Linked DNA regions of Homo sapiens: region 1 is linked to region 2. Evidence: promoter capture Hi-C in human tissues and cell types (Jung and others, 2019). All regions are on one chromosome and are shown on one strand. Each heading gives the region's core, a stretch centred on a gene start or on the middle of the fragment in contact. The rest is flanking DNA. Distances are from core to core; before and after follow the strand shown.

Region 1 (3,949 bases), core at 251-2,750, 58 kb after region 2:
CATAAGTTTAATTACTTAAGAATATATATATCTATATAATTTATGGATTATTCCCTCTTTCATGGTATCAGCTATTCATTCATTCACCCATCTTTTTTATAATTTTTGCTTTCTTATATTTTATGCCTTCTTACCCCAAAATGAATAAACCCTAATATAACCTGAAAATAAGATTATAAAAATGACAATGTACAAAAAAAAGTACACATATGTTTATAACATGTTTATAACTTAAATAATTTTGCTTTTATTTTTAAGAGAAATCCAGGAATAATATACTAATAGGGATTAAATAAATTATGTAAGTCATGCTCTTATTAAACACACTGGTTTTAGTAAACATTTTAAAAGTTAACATAGTCCAAGGAATGAGTTTTTTTTTTAGAAAAATCAATGAATTCATTGTGATGCTTTTAAGGAAAATTAAGTTAACAAAACTAAGCTTTCACATTTTGAAAATACTATTTTGAATCTTTTAGCTTGGGGGTTATACAAATTATTTTCATCTAATTGAAGGTTTGGTAAAGAAGACCAAAGCATACTAGCAATATACCTGAACCCTTATATTTTTTCGTATAAGAGTAGTTAAACACAGAAAACAACCTGAATATTCTACAGTGGCAATTAACATACTTTTAACATTCATCCTCTTTGATGTTCTAGTAATTACATTTTTAATATGCATGCATTAAGCATATTTTAATTATGTAAGAAATTATATTTGTATGCAAGAATGAAAAAGACAAAAGACACATGGGTAAATGTTTATGATCTTACATTTGGCAAAAGTTTCTTAGATATGACACCGAAAGCATAATCAACAAAAGAAAAAATAGAAAAATTGGACTTTATCACAATTAAAAACTTCTGTTTTTCAAAAGGCACTGTCAGGAAAGTGAAAAGACAATCCAAATAATAGAAAATATATGCAAATTATATATGATAGAAAACTTATATCCAGAATATACAAAGAACTCTACAACTCAATAATTAAAAACACAATTTAAAAAGTGCAAAGTATTTGTATAGACATTTCTCCAAGGAAGATACACAACTGGCTAATAAGCACATAAAAAGATACTTAACAACATTAGTCATCAGAGAAATGCAAATAAAAACCACAATGAGATAATACTTCTTACGAACTGGGATGGCTAGAATCAAAGTAGATAATAACAAGTGTTTGTGATGATATAAAGAAATTGAGTCCCTATACATTGTTGCTGGGAAATGGGGATGAAAAACATCTGGCAGTTCTGTGAACAATTAGACATAGAGCTACCATATGACCCAGCAATTCTCGTCCTTCGTACATACCCAAGAGAAATGAAACCTATATGTACAAATGAAAACACGTACACATATGTTTATAACAGTATTATTCAGTATTAATAGCCAATAGGTAGAAACATCTCAAATGTCCATCAACGAATAAATGGATAATCAAAATGTAGACTATGATAAAATGGAATGTAATTTTTCCATAAAAAAGAAAGTACTGATACATGGTACAATATGGATGAACCTTGAAACCAGGCAAAGTGAAAGGAGCCGATTACAGAAGATCACACATTATATAATCATATTATATTACTTAATTATATACATTAATATGAAAGTCCAGTATATAATTACATTCATATGAAAGTCCAGAATAGAGATAGAAAGTAGATTAGAGTTGCTTAGGGCTGGAGAAAGGATGGGAATGTAGGGGCTGATAACTTAAAAGTACAAGATTTCTTCATGTGGTGATGAAAATGTTCTAAAACTAGGAGTAGTCATGGTTGCACATATCTATAACTATACATCATATAAATTCAATTGTATAATTTAAATAGATGAATTTTATGGTATGTGAGTTATAGCTCAATAAAGCTGTTAAACAAATTTTTGAGAAAGAAAAACAACTATGGAGAATTTATTCAACCAGATATTAAGACCTGTAGAGCTATCGAAGTAAAGATAGTGTGATAGTGACGCAAAGATGGGCAAATTGACTGAAGTTGAAAAGAACAGAGAACGTATTGATCACATATGAATGCTGACTTCATGATGAATGCCGTACTGCAGAACAGTGGAGAAACAGTCTTTTAAATAAATATAGAGCTGGGTCAAAAAAAAAGAATATTGAATAAATATGATATTGACTCTATTTTCAAAGATCCCACAATCTTGTTCCATTTTCATAAATCACAAAGGCAAGCTCTGGTATTTAAAGGAAACATTAACTCTTAACATTCTGACTTAGAATTCTCTTCTTCATCCTATGTGAACCTACCCAAATACTGTGAGAGTGCAGAGAGACAGTCAAAGTAATTTTAGCATAATTGAATTACTTACAGAATGTTCTATTAATTATTTTAAGTACTTCTTTTTCTGTACATTTAAAAAAAGGAAATTGCTCTGAAAGAATAAAGCTTGAAGTTTTAGGTCTAGCCTTTAGTTTCATTACTCCCTCTCTACCTCTTTTCCTGGGTAAAATGATCTTTGGCATTTAAGTTCTCTTACTACCTACAGTGTTTTACCATAATCATTCTGCTGCCTCCTAAGAACCATACTGTCAACTTTAAATGTGATAAGCAGCCTCATAAACTCAGAGGTTTCCTTAATTTCATGCAGCGACTTTTAATAGTTTTCCCAACATGCAAACTGAATGCTTTATTCAGTTGCAAATGGTTTTGGAATATTTTTTTGCAGCAAATATGAGTCAAAGTCAATAATATGTAATGAAGTGCTAGCATGTTACTACTTATGAGCATTAAGTCCAGATTTCTGCCAAGATTATCATACAACTATACCATATATCAGATGCAGATTATTTTTCTTTATAGTGTAATGGGAGTGTGTGTGTGTGTGTGTGTGTGTAAGCTTGTTGAGCCCTCTGTAGAGCTTAAGGCAAGCAGCTTCTCTTTCTCTCTATGGCCATATATAGTACATCTATTCCCTTAATTGAAGTTTCAGCCATTTTATCTACCTTATTTTTGCACAGCCTTATTCAAAACAAGCTTAGAAATGTTGAATGTATTTAGAAAGTAATGTACCAATACTGATCAAGGTTTAACATGTTTACGACATTTAACACTGTAATTTCTCCTGTAGGAGATTATCTTATAATCTAAAAGTAGGAAAAGGACTATATAAATAAAAATAGTTTTTATATTATTATCCATGTCAACAAAATAAATAAATATTAGCCTGTGTTTGACACCGTGAGCCTGGGCTGAGGTGGTAGATTATAAGCAAATTATATCTTATCTATTTGATAAAATATTATAACTATGAAAATAGTTATTATGAAGTTTATATGAAAAAGAGAAATGTTAAAGATGTACAGGTGTTTATACTAAAATTTCCCTTAGTCTGATAATAATCATGCAAGCTTTATTTAGTTGGATGCTAAAGACAGAACATCTAATCAAATTTTTAAAATGTTTAATAATATATTTGATAGTTGTATAATATTTTCCATAATAAAGTACAATTAAAATTACATTTTTGGTGAGTAATTGCCAGTTTTTAGCCATTCAATACCAAATCTTTCTTATTATTCAATATTCCTCTTGAAGGAATCCTTTTTATGTATAGACTTTGGAAGTAATGGCCATGGTCATTTTCTTTCTTTCTTTTTTTTTTTTTTTTTTTTTTTGAGACAAGGTCTTGCTCTGTCACCCAGGCTGGAGTACGGTGGTGTGATTGTAGCTCACTGCAGCCTCAAACTCCTGGGCTCAAGCAATGCACCCACCTCGGCCTCCTAGTAGCTGGGACTACAGACATGTGCCATCTTACTCAGCAATTTTTATAAAATAGTTATTTTATAGGCTGGGCACGGTGGCTCACGCCTGTGTCCCCAGCACTTTGGGAGGCTGAGGAAGGTGGATCACAAGGTCAGAAGTTTAAGACCAGCCTGGCCAATATGATGAAACCCCGTATCTACTAAAAATACAAAAAT
Region 2 (3,821 bases), core at 884-3,383:
GAGAGGCAAAGACCAAGATCTCCTACGTTATTTATGTTTTTCAAGTTATTCATTTCTTGGGGGTTGGGAATACGGTCTCACTCTGTTGCCCAGACTGGAGTGCAGTAAAGCAATCACATCTCACTGCAGTTTTGATCTCCCAGGCTCAAGCGATCCTCCCACCTCAGCCTTCCGAGTAGCTGGGATTGCAGGCGTTTGCCACCACATCCAGCTAATTTTTAGTTTTTTGTAGAAACATGGTGTCACTATTTGCCTAGGCTGGTCTCAAATTCCTGGGCTCAAAAAATCCTCCTGCCTCAGCCTCTCAGAGTGTTGGGATTATAGATGTGAACCACTGTACCCAGCCTCAGATTATTTTTATATTTAGGAGGTATCTCCATATCTTAAACAAACATGTGTTCTCACTTATAATACAGATAATATGCTCTAGCTGATGAGAAAGCAAATAATTGGAAAAAAACACTGGAAACTTCCAGGACAAAATGAACATAGGAATAAAACTGAAGTAGAATGAGGAAGAGGAACTAGAACAAGGAAGAGGACCCAGAAGTAACAAATCAGAGTAATGCTGGAAAATCCTGTCAGGGAGGGAATGGTTAAGCCTATGTCTCAGTAACCATGAACAAAGGGCCAAAGAAACCCTTCATCCAATCCGGTGTTGGGAAACTGTTAACGACACAGAAGTCATCTGTTTGCTCAATGATTCACATTCCTTAGAGAGGGAGTTCTCAGACCAATCATTTTGAAAACTCAGTGATTTTCACATTCATTAATTCAGTGAGTGGACTCTTTAAATCTGGATGTCATTGGACCAGCCATTAAATCTTTGGCCGGTAATTGACTGAAATGGAGGACATTTTGCAAATTGTAATGCCTCCCACCTGGAGTGTGGTTGGCGTGCTTGCTTTGGAGACATTTTCATCCTTAGAATAGATCCCTTGCCAGTGGGATGTAAAAGAAAAAGGAAAAGGGTCCACTTCTCCCACATGAAGCCCCCCACTGCCTCTAGGGAGTGGCAAGAAAGCGGCAGTCAAAAGCTACAACTTGACTCGAATTTTGAAATAATCTCAGTTGAATTTTTCTTCCTTTGAAAACCATTTGAAAAACTATAGAAAGGATAGTGTTAAATTTCTACTGGGTTTAGTCCCACTTATATGAAAAGATTCGAAAAAGCATCTTTCCTTCCTATTTTTGAATCGGACCAGACAGAGGAGGTAAGCATAGTGAGTTACAGGGCTGGGCTTGTTCCTGGATCAGTTACCACATGGCTTGTCTCAGTCAAACACTTTGCACACCTCCCGTTCATCTGGCAAATAAGGGTCTTAAGTTTGATGGCCTTGAAGATAAACTTCCAGCACTAAATTGTTCTCTAGCGTCTAAATTTTAAGTGACTGCATAGCTTATTTCAAGGGCCACTTTTATATTGTTCCATAAAAATGAAAGGTATGTGTTTGGCTTTAATAAATGTGATCTATTTCAAGCTGCCATTGAAGAAACATTGAATGAAAGTTTCCATATTAAACATTACTTCAATAGAGAGAGAGGTGTTCCTTAACAGCTAATGTAATAATTAACAGTTCATTCAAATTAATTATAAGGAGTACTTCTCTATTTTCTTCTTTTCTGGATCTTAAGAATAAACTATGAAATGTTAATTTCTTGCTTAGGGCTCCTGCTAAGTATCAACAGTTTTCGTGTGTCTTGAAACTAATACCTAAATATTTCTCCCTATTGAGGCATCTTTATTAAAGCCAGAATTGATTACCATCTTAAGGAAAAGTGGCTTACTTACACTAGAATAAAGTAATAAAGTCCAAAATGTTTTTTAATTACTCCCCAATAAACTTACAACATTTTGGCATTGTCTTCAGCTGTGTCTTGACACATGTATTTATACTTTTATATCAGAGTGATTTTTACACAGGAAGTTTCAGCTCTGTAATTAGCAATCCACAATAGAAACTTTGACACTTAATTACAGCATTGCTAAGGCAATAATAATATGAGAAATCCTAAACTTGAATGCAGTATTTCTTGACACACCCCTAGCTACCTTCTTATTGGCTGGGAAACAATTATATATGACTAGTAAATAATCCATACTGAAATGAATGTGTATGAAAAAAGGCAACATGCATTTACAACAGGTACTTCTAGTTAGGCCAAGTTCAGTCACAGCTACTGATTTGGACTAAAACGTTATGGGCAGCAGCCAAGGAGAACATCATCAAAGACTTCTCTAGACTCAAAAGGCTTCCACGTTCTACATCTTGAGCATCTTCTACCACTCCGAATTGAACCAGTCTTCAAAGTAAAGGCAATGGCATTTTATCCCTTGCAAATTGCTGGGCTGGTTCTTGGGTTCCTTGGCATGGTGGGGACTCTTGCCACAACCCTTCTGCCTCAGTGGAGAGTATCAGCTTTTGTTGGCAGCAACATTATTGTCTTTGAGAGGCTCTGGGAAGGGCTCTGGATGAATTGCATCCGACAAGCCAGGGTCCGGTTGCAATGCAAGTTCTATAGCTCCTTGTTGGCTCTCCCGCCTGCCCTGGAAACAGCCCGGGCCCTCATGTGTGTGGCTGTTGCTCTCTCCTTGATCGCCCTGCTTATTGGCATCTGTGGCATGAAGCAGGTCCAGTGCACAGGCTCTAACGAGAGGGCCAAAGCATACCTTCTGGGAACTTCAGGAGTCCTCTTCATCCTGACGGGCATCTTCGTTCTGATTCCGGTGAGCTGGACAGCCAATATAATCATCAGAGATTTCTACAACCCAGCCATCCACATAGGTCAGAAACGAGAGCTGGGAGCAGCACTTTTCCTTGGCTGGGCAAGCGCTGCTGTCCTCTTCATTGGAGGGGGTCTGCTTTGTGGATTTTGCTGCTGCAACAGAAAGAAGCAAGGGTACAGATATCCAGTGCCTGGCTACCGTGTGCCACACACAGATAAGCGAAGAAATACGACAATGCTTAGTAAGACCTCCACCAGTTATGTCTAATGCCTCCTTTTGGCTCCAAGTATGGACTATGGTCAATGTTTTTTATAAAGTCCTGCTAGAAACTGTAAGTATGTGAGGCAGGAGAACTTGCTTTATGTCTAGATTTACATTGATACGAAAGTTTCAATTTGTTACTGGTGGTAGGAATGAAAATGACTTACTTGGACATTCTGACTTCAGGTGTATTAAATGCATTGACTATTGTTGGACCCAATCGCTGCTCCAATTTTCATATTCTAAATTCAAGTATACCCATAATCATTAGCAAGTGTACAATGATGGACTACTTATTACTTTTTGACCATCATGTATTATCTGATAAGAATCTAAAGTTGAAATTGATATTCTATAACAATAAAACATATACCTATTCTAAAATGTAACCTATTATTTTTCCTCTACATTGTTTCTTGTACTACATACTAACAACTAAATGGTGACCTTTTTAAAAAGATTATCATGGAAAATTGTAGATATCAAACAATAATCGTTAGTTGAATTAGACGAAAATGTCCATCTAATGAAAGGCTTTGTTCCTTTAGGAACTCACACAATAAAAATTAGACACTTTAGTGAAAAGAGAGCTCTGATTTCTCTTAGGACAATTAAGAAGACAGATTTTAAGGTCTCTAATTTATACAGTTAAACTTGCCTAGAATTACTGTTTAAAGGAAAATAATTTATAAATGAAAACTAACATTTTTCATAGCCTACCATCTGCACGTCAAGCAAACAGAAGCATCTATCTTGATAAGACACATCAATGGGAGGCTATTAACACTCAATTCTTATCTAGAGGTTATATGGTCCCAAATAGAAAATTGCA

What was found. Contacts are between HindIII fragments. The study calls those that stand out against the background at their distance.
Region 1: a fragment that was not itself captured here is called in contact with the fragment with the promoter of CLDN17 in region 2 in 1 of the 25 tissues and cell types used here (hippocampus).

Annotation. Positions count from the first base shown.
Region 1 is chr21:30,106,139-30,110,087 of GRCh38, reverse strand. No RefSeq gene overlaps it. Among named protein-coding and RNA genes, the nearest start is that of CLDN17, 59 kb to the left of the region's middle. The HindIII fragment of the contact is 3,385 bases long and covers 1-3,192 here.
Region 2 is chr21:30,165,117-30,168,937 of GRCh38, reverse strand. It overlaps CLDN17 (claudin 17), which reads left to right and starts at 2,133. Exons shown (of 1, transcript NM_012131.3): 1 at 2,133-3,373. The coding sequence starts at 2,321. The coding sequence ends at 2,995. The HindIII fragment of the contact is 9,466 bases long and covers 1-3,821 here.